Regions from separate parts of the Homo sapiens genome. Here region 1 is linked to region 2. The links are contacts of gene promoters, found by promoter capture Hi-C in blood cells and fetal thymus (Javierre and others, 2016). All regions are on one chromosome and are shown on one strand. Each heading gives the region's core, a stretch centred on a gene start or on the middle of the fragment in contact. The rest is flanking DNA. Distances are from core to core; before and after follow the strand shown.

What was found. The method cuts DNA at HindIII sites, captures the fragments that hold promoters and counts their contacts. A CHiCAGO score of 5 or more calls a contact.
Region 1: a contact is called between the fragment with the promoter of SLC30A2 here and the fragment with the promoter of CNKSR1 in region 2, in 6 of 17 cell types (M2 macrophages, M1 macrophages, erythroblasts and 3 more). The highest score is 9.3, in M2 macrophages.

Annotation. Positions count from the first base shown.
Region 1 is chr1:26,044,601-26,050,273 of GRCh38, reverse strand. SLC30A2 (solute carrier family 30 member 2) reads left to right here and starts at 4,156. Exons shown (of 8, transcript NM_001004434.3): 1 at 4,156-4,427; 2 at 5,057-5,277. The coding sequence starts at 4,378. It overlaps LOC105376910 (a long non-coding RNA gene), which reads right to left and starts at 2,016. Exons shown (of 2, transcript XR_001737948.2): 1 at 229-2,016. RefSeq lists an enhancer at 4,557-5,125. The HindIII fragment of the contact is 10,541 bases long and covers 1-5,673 here.
Region 2 is chr1:26,174,112-26,180,179 of GRCh38, reverse strand. It overlaps CNKSR1 (connector enhancer of kinase suppressor of Ras 1), which reads right to left and starts at 2,689. Exons shown (of 21, transcript NM_006314.3): 1 at 2,581-2,689. The coding sequence starts at 2,632. The HindIII fragment of the contact is 21,071 bases long and covers 1-6,068 here.

The sequences.
Region 1 (5,673 bases), core at 2,907-5,406, 130 kb after region 2:
TTTTAGGGCAGGCTTTTGGTGAAGAGGGATTGTAGTTTTTATAGCTAGCCTTGGGGGAGAATAAGGGACCAGAGACAGGAGGGCAGGAGAAGGTCAGAGAGAAATGTTTGCTTCCGAGGGAGGCCTTCATTTCGGGGTATTGTTTTCTGAGACCCTATGAGGCACACTCCCAAGGCCAACAGAGGGAAGGAAAATGGAAGCGAGGCAGGCAAGGAGGGAAGCAAGTACAAGGTGTCACGTGGCTGAGCTGGCCACAGCTTCACCAAAGACTGGGCTGGCTGCTTAGTCATGTGAGATGTTTCCAGCAGGCCATAAAGAACAGAACATGATTCAAAGTCCTTCATCTAGAGAAGAAAAAAAAAAAGAAATGTGTCTGCTGGCTCCTTCCTGTCTCCCGCCTCCCATACTGTTCATTCCACCTTGACTTCAGGTGGTGCAGGTGCAGGGGCAGCAAGGTCACCTGCCCCATTGGGTGGTACTTCAGCTGAGTCTGGAGATGGTGGGAGGTGCCAGGGCCTCCATGGTCCAGTTGGGTTGGACAAGGGTGGGGCAGCTGCTGTCTCCACCTCAGTGAACACAATGGGGCCAGGCTGGTGCCCAGACTCACGCCAGGAAAGGCCAAGTCAGCCACCGGCAGTAGGGGATGAATTCATGACTGTGGCCCAGTAGCATCCAGGATCTCCATGAGCAAGAAGCCAAGGGCCTGGAGAGAGGCAAGGCTGAGCGAATCCGAGGCAGCGCATTCACCGGGGCTGATACACCAGAGACTTACAACTTTGAGGAGCATTGCAGAGCCTGTTCCCCCTTTTAGACATTCAGATCACAGTAGCAAATTAAGGGGTCCGAGTCGTCCCACCGTAAAGAAAGCGAATTAACTTTAGATGAGGACCATCAAGTTCATGGTGCTTGGAATGCTGCCTGACCCTAAGTCTTTCATTTTGTGTGTGTGGACTGAATTTCCCAACTTATTCATATGACATCCTCCGGAACTAGAGTTATGTGGAACTTGCTTTAGGACAGTGCTCAAAAACCCTCACAACCTCTGCCCATTTTCACTTCTGGGAGTTTGGTAGGTTTTCTAAGGCTAACTCAGTTCCTAACTTTGAATTTCAAAGAATCAGATTTTGCTCTCATTTCCAGTCCTTTCTCAAGTTCTGAAGCATTTTGTTTTAGTTTTTAAAACACGGTGTAATACACACACACACACCCTTAAAAGTGCACAAAACTCATCGTAGAGTTTAATAACCTATTGTAAAATGAAACCTTATGTTACTACCACTCAGGTGAAAAAAAAAAAAGAACATTGCCAGCCCTCAGAAGCCCTCCATGTGCCCCTCTACCACATCACAGCTCCTCTTTCTGATTGGGGCAGCGGAAAGAGGAGCGGTCAATTTTTTTGTTTTTTTGACAATCACATACTTGTTTTTCTTTATGGTTTGGTCTCCTAAAGTATCCTCCCATAGAAAACTGAAGGGATTTGAGTCCAGAAGGAGAAATTTGAGGCCAGAAAGAGAGAGGTTTTCATCACCTTGAAATCACAAGAATCAGTATTATAACGTGTGTATGTTCTGTTACTTCTCCAGGCTACTGATCATGTAAGCAGCAAGCATTTCAGCCCCGTATCTTGTCACTTATGGAAGAGAAGAGAGAGCAGTTGAGACTTTGGGTAATCAGTTAAAGATTAAATTCCAGGAAGATACCTGTTAATTGCAACTAAGGGGATCTTTCCTTTGCCATAGGAAGGGCTCTTCCTGTACTTGCAAACTAGAACCCTTAAGATGGTATGAAGGGTTCTTGATCAACATGCTTCCTTTAAAATCATGCTGCAAGAGAGGACAGCTGGCTTCAAGGGGGTTCTTTCAATGAATCTTGAATACAGCTCCATGGGCTGCTACATCAGAATTGCCAGGAAAGGTTTATTTTTCCCCAAGTCTTTAATTCTGAAACTTTTTTTTTTTTTTTTTTTAGACAGAGTTTCACTCTTGATTGCCCACGCTGGAGTGCAATGGCATGATCTCGGCTCACTGCAACCTCTACCTCCCGGGTTCAAGTGATTCTCCTGCCTCAGAATTCTGAGTAGCTGGGATTACAGGCGCCTGCCACCATGCCTGGCTAATTTTCTTATTTTTAGTAGAGACGAGGTTTTGCCATGTTGACCAGGCTGGTCTCGAACTCTTGACCTCAGGTGATCCGCCTGCCTCAGCCTCCCAAAGTGCTGGGATTATAGGCGTGAGCCGCCGCACCCAGCCAACATTTTTTAAATACTGAAAAGTAGAGGGAATAGTTATAGTGTACCCCATTTACCCATCACTCAGTTTCAACAGCTGGTGACATATTTATTTCTTCTATACCAGTACCGTACTCTCCCCACTGGGATTATTTTAAGGCAAAACCCAGATGACATTTTATCCCTAAATACTTTAGATAAAGGTGTTCTTTGAAAAAAATCATAACCTCAGGACCAGCCTGGCCAACATGGTGAAACCCTGTCTGTACTAAAAATACAAAAATTAGCTTGGCATGGTCGTGGGCACCTGTAATCCCAGCTACTCAGGAAGCTGAGGCAGGAGAATCACTTGAATCCGGGAAGCAGAGATTGCAGTGAGCTGAGATTGCAGTCGAGCCTGGGCGACAGAGACAGAAATGAAACTCTGTCTCAAAAACAAACAAACAAAAAAACCACTATACATAAAAATGAACAATGATGCCACAATAGCACCAGAGAATTTTATAAATACAGATTCCCAGGCCCTGCCCCAGACCTACTGAATCCTGGAAATATTCAGGCTCCACACCCAGAGATTCTGGTTCGGTTGGTCTGATGCAGGGACCTGTAACCTGCGTTGTAACACCTTCTCCAGGTAATGCTGAGCCTGCTGGTGCTCAGAGTAGACAGACCTGGAGAAAACCAGGGTGTCTGAGGTTTTCCAGAAGAAAACCAGAGTCCAGAGAAGCAGAGAGGCACTCAGTGAGGACCCAAGCAGAGCGGGTGCACCTCACATCCTCACTCCTGGCACCCCGTCTCCTACAAGATGAGAGACTGAAAGAGCCCCTTCCTGTCCCCAGTGGTGTGGGCAAGAGGCCTGCACCTCTGACTCTTGGCTCTGTGAAAGGCCATACCCACCAAGCCTATGGTCCTAGCGACAAAGGGTGCTGGGGAGACGAATTGACCAGACAGGGAGGTCTCCAGCAGCTTCTTTCTACACAGAGGGCACCTGTCAGAGGCCAGCGTGGGGGCCACAGGCTCCCCAATCCCCAAGAACCGCCAGGGAAGGAGGCTGCTTCAAGTGGGTGGGGCACCAAGCTGGCCAGGAAGGACAGGGCTTCTCCCAGCGGTACCAACACGGTGGCACCTCCGGCCTGCATCTCCCAGGCTTGCTTGTCAGGCTTCCTGGGGCTCCCAGGAGCCGCTGCGGGGGAGGGGAGAAGGGGTGGCAGCAGTGGCAGTGGTCGTCTCTGCTCCGATGGTGACTGCCGATGACACTGTTCTCTGTGCGGGTGGAGACAAAGCCGGCCACTCCAGATTCTCCTGCGCGCAGGAGAGGAGGAGCTGGCGCTGCTTCAGTGGCGAGGATGGGTCGATCAGTCCCAGCCGGTCCTAGGGAGAGACACTGCCCCAGCCTGAGGGCGGCGCAGCCCACCCCACCCCAGGACCCTCCTAGCAGGAGGACAGGAACGCAAGCCGACCTCGGGGGGTCTCCGGCCTGAGAGGGGAACATGATCAAGCCCAGGGCAGCCGCCAGTCGGAGGGGGCAGACGCGGCCCCAGTAGCCTCTGGAGACCCTCTTCCGAGGCAAGGAGCCACATTCCTGCCGTCGGGACCACCAAAGCGGATTTCTACAAACTAAAGTCGAGAACTTTTCGGCGGCGAGGCGGCGCACCCCGCGCGGGAGAGGGGGCGCAGGCGTCACCCCGTCCTCACTCAGCAACACCCGGCGCCGCGCCGGGCGAAGGCTGGCAAACTTCTCGCGGCCGGCAGGTGGGCTCCGCGGGCCCCATGGGCGCAGGCACAGGTGTGCGGGGCCACAGCCGGGCCTTTTGCAGCCGGCGACCGCCCCCCCTTCCCCGCGGGCTTTTGCACACGACGCGCCGACGGCAGCTTCACACGGGTTGGCGAGGGCCGGATAAAGCCGGCGGCCGCGGGGCGCAGCGGCTGACCCGAGACACGGGAGCGCTTGGCACGCGGAGCCAGAGCCGGAGCTGCAGCCGCAGCGGGAGCCGGGGGAGCTCAGGGGCCGCAGGAGCCGGGCCGGAGTGAGCGCACCTCGCGGGGCCCTCGGGGCAGGTGGGTGAGCGCCACCCGGAGTCCCGCGCGCAACTTTCAGGGCGCACTCGGCGGGGCGGCTGCGCGGCTGCCGGGACTCGGCGCGGGACTGCATGGAGGCCAAGGAGAAGCAGCATCTGTTGGACGCCAGGCCGGCAATCCGGTAAGGCGAGAGCCTGGGGACGGGCGGGAATTTTGGCGGCAGCCGACGCACCTCCGCATTTGCCATCCTAGCAGTGGTTGGTTTTGGCTGCGGCTTGAGCTGGGACCATGCAGGAGGGGTGGGGTGAGGTGAGGGAACGAAGATAATGGGCTGTGGCCCAAGGACCGTCTCTCCCTTGGGGCGCAGCCCAGATTCTGACCCCTGCCCGCGGGGGGCCTGGGGCCGGGGGATTGGCGGTTCCCATGCCTGGAGTCCCGCCCCGCCCAGCACTTTGCCCCAGGCAGCCCCGCCCCGGGGAGGCCCTGTGTCCCAAGTGCGCTGGAGGGGGCCTGCTGTTCTCCCAGAGCCTGCGCTCTGTTCCTTCCCCGCGCTCCACTGGACAGCACGCCCCTTGGCCGGTTCCCAGGGTCTTCACCTCCTCTGGCCTCTGAAGGGCCCCGGGCCCCAGGACTCCCATTCCCCTATCATCCCCGTCTGAATACAGGCTTCTCACCTCTGGTTTGTCGAGCTCGGAGCGTCCTTAGCTATTTTTCCCAGTGGACACAAGGCCTCACAGAGAAATGGGACTAGAGTCGGCCCTCCTTACCTCATCTCAGAGCTGAGCGTTCCCTCTCTTCCCCTCTGGCCAGGTCATACACGGGATCTCTGTGGCAGGAAGGGGCTGGCTGGATTCCTCTGCCCCGACCTGGCCTGGACTTGCAGGCCATTGAGCTGGCTGCCCAGAGCAACCATCACTGCCATGCTCAGAAGGGTCCTGACAGTCACTGTGACCCCAAGAAGGGGAAGGCCCAGCGCCAGCTGTATGTAGCCTCTGCCATCTGCCTGTTGTTCATGATCGGAGAAGTCGTTGGTAAGCACTTTTGGGCTAATTAAATGAAGTTGGTGCATGGATAGACTGGATGTTCCCAGCAATACTGACACTAAAAGCCCCAATTACTGAACACACACTACAGTAAGCCTTTATATACACATTATCTGATGCAGGTCTAACAACAACCTGTGTTCTCACATGGGTGACGTTATTCTCCTTACTTTACAGATGATGAAACTGAGGCATGTTCAGGTGAAGTAACTTGCCAAAGATCACGCACAACTCGTAGCTAAGGGAAGGCCTGAATTCCTAGAAGGGAAGAGCATTTACTGAGTATCTGCTATGTTTTCCAGTCCCTATTTGAACTTGATGTGCACATTCACCCTCTAAGTAGATATTGGTGGCCCATTTCACAGAGAGTGGAAGTTGAGGCTC
Region 2 (6,068 bases), core at 1,440-3,939:
GCTGAATCAGAAACTCTGAGGTTGGGGCCCAGCAGTCTTTTTTTTGTTTTTGTTTTGTTTTTTCTTTTTGAGACAGGGGCTTGAGACACAGTCACGGCTCACTGCAGCCTTGACCTCCTAGGCTCAATCCATCCTCCCACCTCAGCCTCCCAAGTAGCTGGGACTACAGGCACACACCACCACACCCAGCTAATTTTTGTATTTTTTGCAGAGGTGGGATTTCACCATGTTGCCCAGGCTAGTCTCGAACTCCTGGGCTCAAGCAATTTGACTGCCTCAGTCTCTGAAAGTGCTAGAATTACAGGTGTGAGCCACGACGCCCAGCCAGCAGTTTGTATTTTAATGCAGGTGACTGTGATGCTCCCTTAAGTTTGAGAACTAATGATACAGGGGATAAGAACAAGAGGCTATGGAGTCACTGAGACACTGTGAACACTTGAGCAAGTAATAGCACTGCTCTGTGCCCAGTTTTCTCACCTGTAATGTGAGAATAATAAAAGTACCTACCTTCTAATCATGTGTGTATTGAATGACACAACATATGTCAAGGCCTTGGCCACTGTCTGGTTCGTGGGAGACAGCCAATAATAGCCATCATATTATTATTGCCAGACTTTACCATGACCTACAGGCCCTGTATGATTAGGCTACTACCTCCCTTTCCAGCATCATATCCTGAAGAGCCCCCTAAACTCAACATTTCAGATGCACAGAGCTAATTCCTTGCAGCTCCTGGAACACCCTTTTACCTCAGCGTCCTTGCAAGTGCTATTCCTCCTGCTGGCGTTGCTCTTCTATCTCCTTCACTTCCTTTTTCATCTAACTTCCTCCAGGAAGCCTTCCATAACTTCCCAGGCTGAGTGGGATGGAGGGCTCTCCTCTTGTTCCCACTGCCCCTGAGCCTCCACAAACCCCTGCACTTGACCATCGGTCTTTCCCATTTTATCACAGGCTCTTCAAAGATCAGGCCTTAGATAACCATTTGTCTCTAACCCCCGGCCTGTGCCTGGACAAGGTAGGCACTGAAAAATAAGAAAAGTGTCTATTGAGGGCTTACTATGTGCTATGCAAATCTATAAGAGCTTTACACATATTAACACATTTGATTCTCACTGCATTTCTAGGAGGTAAAGACTATCATTATCCTGCTTACAGATGGGAAAACTGACACAGAGGTTAAGTAGCTTGCTCACTCTTCGAAGGAATTCTTCCCCTTCTAAGCCAGGCTCCTTCACTGGGGGAGGTGTGTGTGTGTGTTCCCTGTGTCACATTGAGAGCACTGGACTGGGAGTTCATGAACCTATCACTCCCTGGCTATGGGCCCCTGAGCCACCTCCTTCCTGCACGGTGACTGTATTGGGCTGGTGCCCTCCCAATAGACCCAGGCATTGAGCTACAAATGAACTATGTCATGATTGTCTCACTTTGTCGACTTCATAAGGTCAGAGTTGCCTTTCCCATTTGATGGACAGAAAAACTAAGACCTATGGTCACAGAGCTGGCAAGCGGTGGGGGTGGGCCTGGAATCCAGCCTGGGAGTCTGAACCCAGCCCTGAATTCCTGCCCTTACCCGGGCTGGTCCTCCTGAGCCTGTCTCTAGTGCGCTCCAGCTCCCCACTCTGGGAGGGGTGTCCTGACTGCCTGCTCCTGGTCGCACTGTGTGTCAGGAGGCCCTTCCTTCTCTGAGTCTGCCTGTGGGGTGTGTTGCTTCCCATCTGTGTGGGCTCGCTGAGCCTGGACAGCACCTTGCCCCTTGGATAGGAGCCCCAGGGTGGGGCTGTGTCAACCTCTTCAGTCTGGCCTAGGGCTTCTGCTTCTGTCACTAGGAGCTCAGGGTGTGGAGCGGGGAAAATGACACCAGAGACTGAGCAAATCATTTCCTGGCTCTGTGTGTCAGTTTCTGACTCTAAGAAACGGATTTAACAACAGCCCACTGGCCCTGGGGCCAGGGAAGATGAAGGAGATACAGTGGGTGTGGGCCTGTCAGGCCTCCCTCCTGTTTTCATGACACCGCCTCCCCATTATCACCCTAGAGGCCTCTTGGGCTACTGCCATGATGAGGGGCCCCCTTCTGGGTCCTTGGGCCCCCCAGGGTCATCTCATCTGTCTCTCTGCCCAGCACGGTTCCTGGAACATGTTAGGTGCTCTGTAAATATTTGTTGACTGACTGACCGACTGATAGAGCCCGCAGTTTATTATTTTTTTTTTTCTTTTGAGCTGAATCTCGCTCTGTCGTCCAGACTGGAGTGCAGCGGTGCAATCTCGGCTCACTGTAACCTCTGCCTCCTGGGTTCAAGCGATTCTCCTGCCTCAGCCTCCCAAGTAGCTGGGATTACAGGCACCTGCCACCACCCCCAGATAATTTTTGTATTTTTAGTAGAGACGGGGTTTCACCATGCTGGTCTTGAACTCCCGACCTCAGGTGACCCACCCACCTTGGCTTCCCAAAGTGCTGGGATTACAGGTGTGAACCAGCGCACCCAGTCCGCAGATTTTTTTTCCTTTTCCTCTCCTCCCGCTTCCCGGTGGGACACCACACCTAGTCCCCTTCAAGCCCAACTCTACCCCAGCCCCACCCACCTCTCAGCCAAGTTGCCACCTTTCCGGGGGTCCAGGTCTCTACCGGTTCCATGGCCCAGCTCTGCCAGCTCGAATCAGCTCCTGTTTTGCCCTGCTGTCGCCGGAATTTCCGCTCCCAGAGCCCAGGCCTAAGGAGGGGCCGGGCTGGGTCCTGGGCGGAGCCTACTGCATACCTGGGCTCACACAGACGGCAAGATGAGGCACTGCGACAGCCATTGGCCCACGCCCGTCCGCCTCCTGCCCGGCCCTTCAGACATCCTAGGGCTCTGGCATCTCGCGCCTGCTAGGGGGCAGTGCCACTGGCCTCATATCGCGGGGTGGGACCCTGACCCTTGGGCTCCTCAAGAAAAAGCCACAAGAGGAGCGCTGAAATCAGTAGCAAAGCACAGAGGCTAGGGGGCCAGGTCCCTGGGTGCCTAGGCCAGCTCTTGTTAGCTGTGTGACCTGGGGCTGACCCTAACTTCTGCGCCTCAGTTTCTGGGTCTGTAAAAGAGATATAATAGACCGTACTTCAAAGGGCAGCTGTGCACAGTATCTGAATGGCTTGAAAACATTTAGAACTGGGGTGTTTAGCCTCCCTTGGATTTTGCAGTATGGACTCTGGCATCTGGTGAGGCCTGTGAATGCTTTCTCAGAATAGCTGCTTATAAAGGCATAAAACAGGCCGGGCGCGGTGGCTCACGCCTGTAATCCCAGCACTTTGGGAGGCCGAGGTGGGCGGATCACTTGAGATCAGGAGTTCAAGACCAGCCTGGCCAATATGGTGAAACACCATCTCTACTAAAAATACAAAAAATTAGCTGGGCGTAGTGGGTGCTTGTAATCCCAGCTACTCAGGAGGCTGAGGCAGGAGAATCCCTTGAACCCAGGAGGGGGAGGTTCCAGTGAGCCAAGATCGTGCCACTGCACTCCAGCCTGGGCAACAGAGCAAAACTCTGTATTATAAATAAATAAATAAATGCACAAAACAAAATGCTTAGGATTACAATGAGAACAATTATCAAAACTATATTTAAAAACAAATTTGGCCGGGCATGGTGGTTCACGCCTGTAATTCCAGCACTTTGGAAGGCCAAGGCGGGTGGATCATGAGGTTAAGAGATGGAAACCAGCCTGCCCAACATGGTGAAACCCCGTCTCTACTAAAAATACAAAAATTAGCTGGGTGTGGTGGTGCACGCCTGTAGTCACAGCTACTCAGGAGGCTGAGGCAGGAGAATCGCTTGAACCTGGGAGGCGGAGGTTGCAGTGAGCTGAGATCACGCCTCTGCACTCCAGCCTGGCAACAAAGCAAGACTCCGTCTCAAAAAAAAAACCCACAAAAAACAAAAAAAAAATTTGGAGCTGGGGAGTGCTGGCACACGACTGTAGTCCCAGCTACTCGAGAGGTTGAGAGGTTGAGCGGGGGAGTATCACTCAAGCCCAGGAGTCAAAGCCACCCTGGGCAACATAGCAGGAGCCCATCTCAAAAAAATAAAACCAGAAATTTATATTATGTGTTTACTAACATTAATAAGACTGGCCGAAAGTTAAATTTTTCTTTTTTAATGACCTCAGTGTGTTGTCGACCAGCTTGAATAAGGACATTAAACTGTGGGGTGGTCTTTGACGCCCCTCCTCTTACATATTGATCAGCAAACAACTAAAAACAGGGAATGCTGGGCCGGGCATGGTGGCTCACGCCTATAATCGAGACGGGCGGATTATGAGGTCAGGAGATCGAGACCATCCTGGCTAACATGGTGAAACCCCGTCTCTACTAAAAATACAAAAAATTAGCCAGGCATGGTGGCGGGCGCCTGTAGTCCCAGCTACTCAGGAGGCTGAGGCAGGAGAATGGCGTGAACCCAGGAGGCAGAGCTTGCAGTGAGCCGAGTTCGCGCCACTGCACTCTAGCCTGGGCGACAGAGCAAGACTTCGTCTCAAAAAAAAAAAAAAAAAGACAGGGAATGCAGAAGAGTGGAGAAGCCCTACTCAGAACAGGCAGATTCGCCCTTTGGTCACTGAACCACTGCTAAGCCTGGAGGTAACCAATTAATGGCGGCTACATCACAGGAGCATCTGAAACAGAAGTTGCTCACGAACAATTTAGTGGTGGTTTAACAACCACTGTGATTTTGAAATCACTTGAGCATAAATATTTTGAGATACTTGCAATAACTACAATTTGATATGAAAATATGTGATTTCTATTGGTGACTAAGCCAAAGATACTGCTACTGCTTCAATCCATATAGAAGGAAATCATAAATTTTGGTTAGAGTTTAGCAAAAATAAAAATATAATTTTTTCCCATCCAAGTTTATGGATCCCCTGAATTCTGAACCTCAGAGCAAGAGCTTTAATCTTAGAAAAATATCTGACACATAGTAAATGTTCATTTTCATCATCATCATCAGGTCAGGGGACTCCCAGGACTTTAGAATCAGATAAAATCAGCCGGGCGTGGTGGCTCAGGCCTGTAATCCCAGCACTTCAGGAGACCTATGCGGGCGGATCACCTGAGGTCAGGAGTTCGAGACCAGCCTGACCAACATGGAGCAACCCCATCTCTACTAAAAATACAAAATTAGCCGGGTGTGGTGGCACATGCCTGTAATCCCAGGTACTCGGGAGGCTGAGGCAGGAGAATTGCTTGAACTCATGAGGTAGAGGTAGCGGTGAGCTGAGATCGCGTCATTGCACTCCAGCCTGGGCAACAAAAGTGAAACTCCACCTCAAAAAAAAAAAGGCCGGGCGCGGTGGCTCATGCCTGTAATCCCAGCACTTTGGGAGGCCAAGGCGGGTGGATCATCTGAGGTCAGGAGTTCGAGATCAGCCTGGCCAACATAGAGAAGCCCTGTCTGTACTAAAAATCCAAAAAATTAGCCGGTCGTGGTGGCGGGCGCCTATAATCCCAGCAACTCGGAAGGCTGAGACAGGAGAATTGCTTGAACCCGGAAGCAGAGGTTGCAGTGAGCCGAGATTGCGCCACTGCACTCCAACCTGGGCAACAAGAGCAAAACTCTGTCTCAAAAAAAAAAAAAATCAGATAAAATCAGTTCCATACTCAACTGCTATGTGACTCAGCCCAACTTCTACAGCTCTCTGAATCTGTTTCTTTGTCTCCAGAAGGGGATTCCTAGGCCTTAGCACTGTGATGACATTAAGTACTTTGAAATCTGTATCATGGGGTAGATATGAGTTATTATTGCTTTAATTCTGTGGGGAGGAGCTACCTGTTGTCACCTACTTCAGAATTTCTGCAGCACCCCCAGTCATCAAAGCCTGTCACGACCTTACCTGTAACCCAGAGACCCAAAGTCTGAATTTCGCCCATGGTTGGCCCATGTAGTGTACGTGTGTTGTCATCATTTAATAACGTCACATCCAAATTGAGATTTCCAGCTTCTCTGAACTTGGCCAGCTCTGGTGATGCCATCCCACCTTCACACTTGGTATTAACAGCCTCTTTCATTTTGTGAGCCAGTTGGCTTCAAATTTGCAAA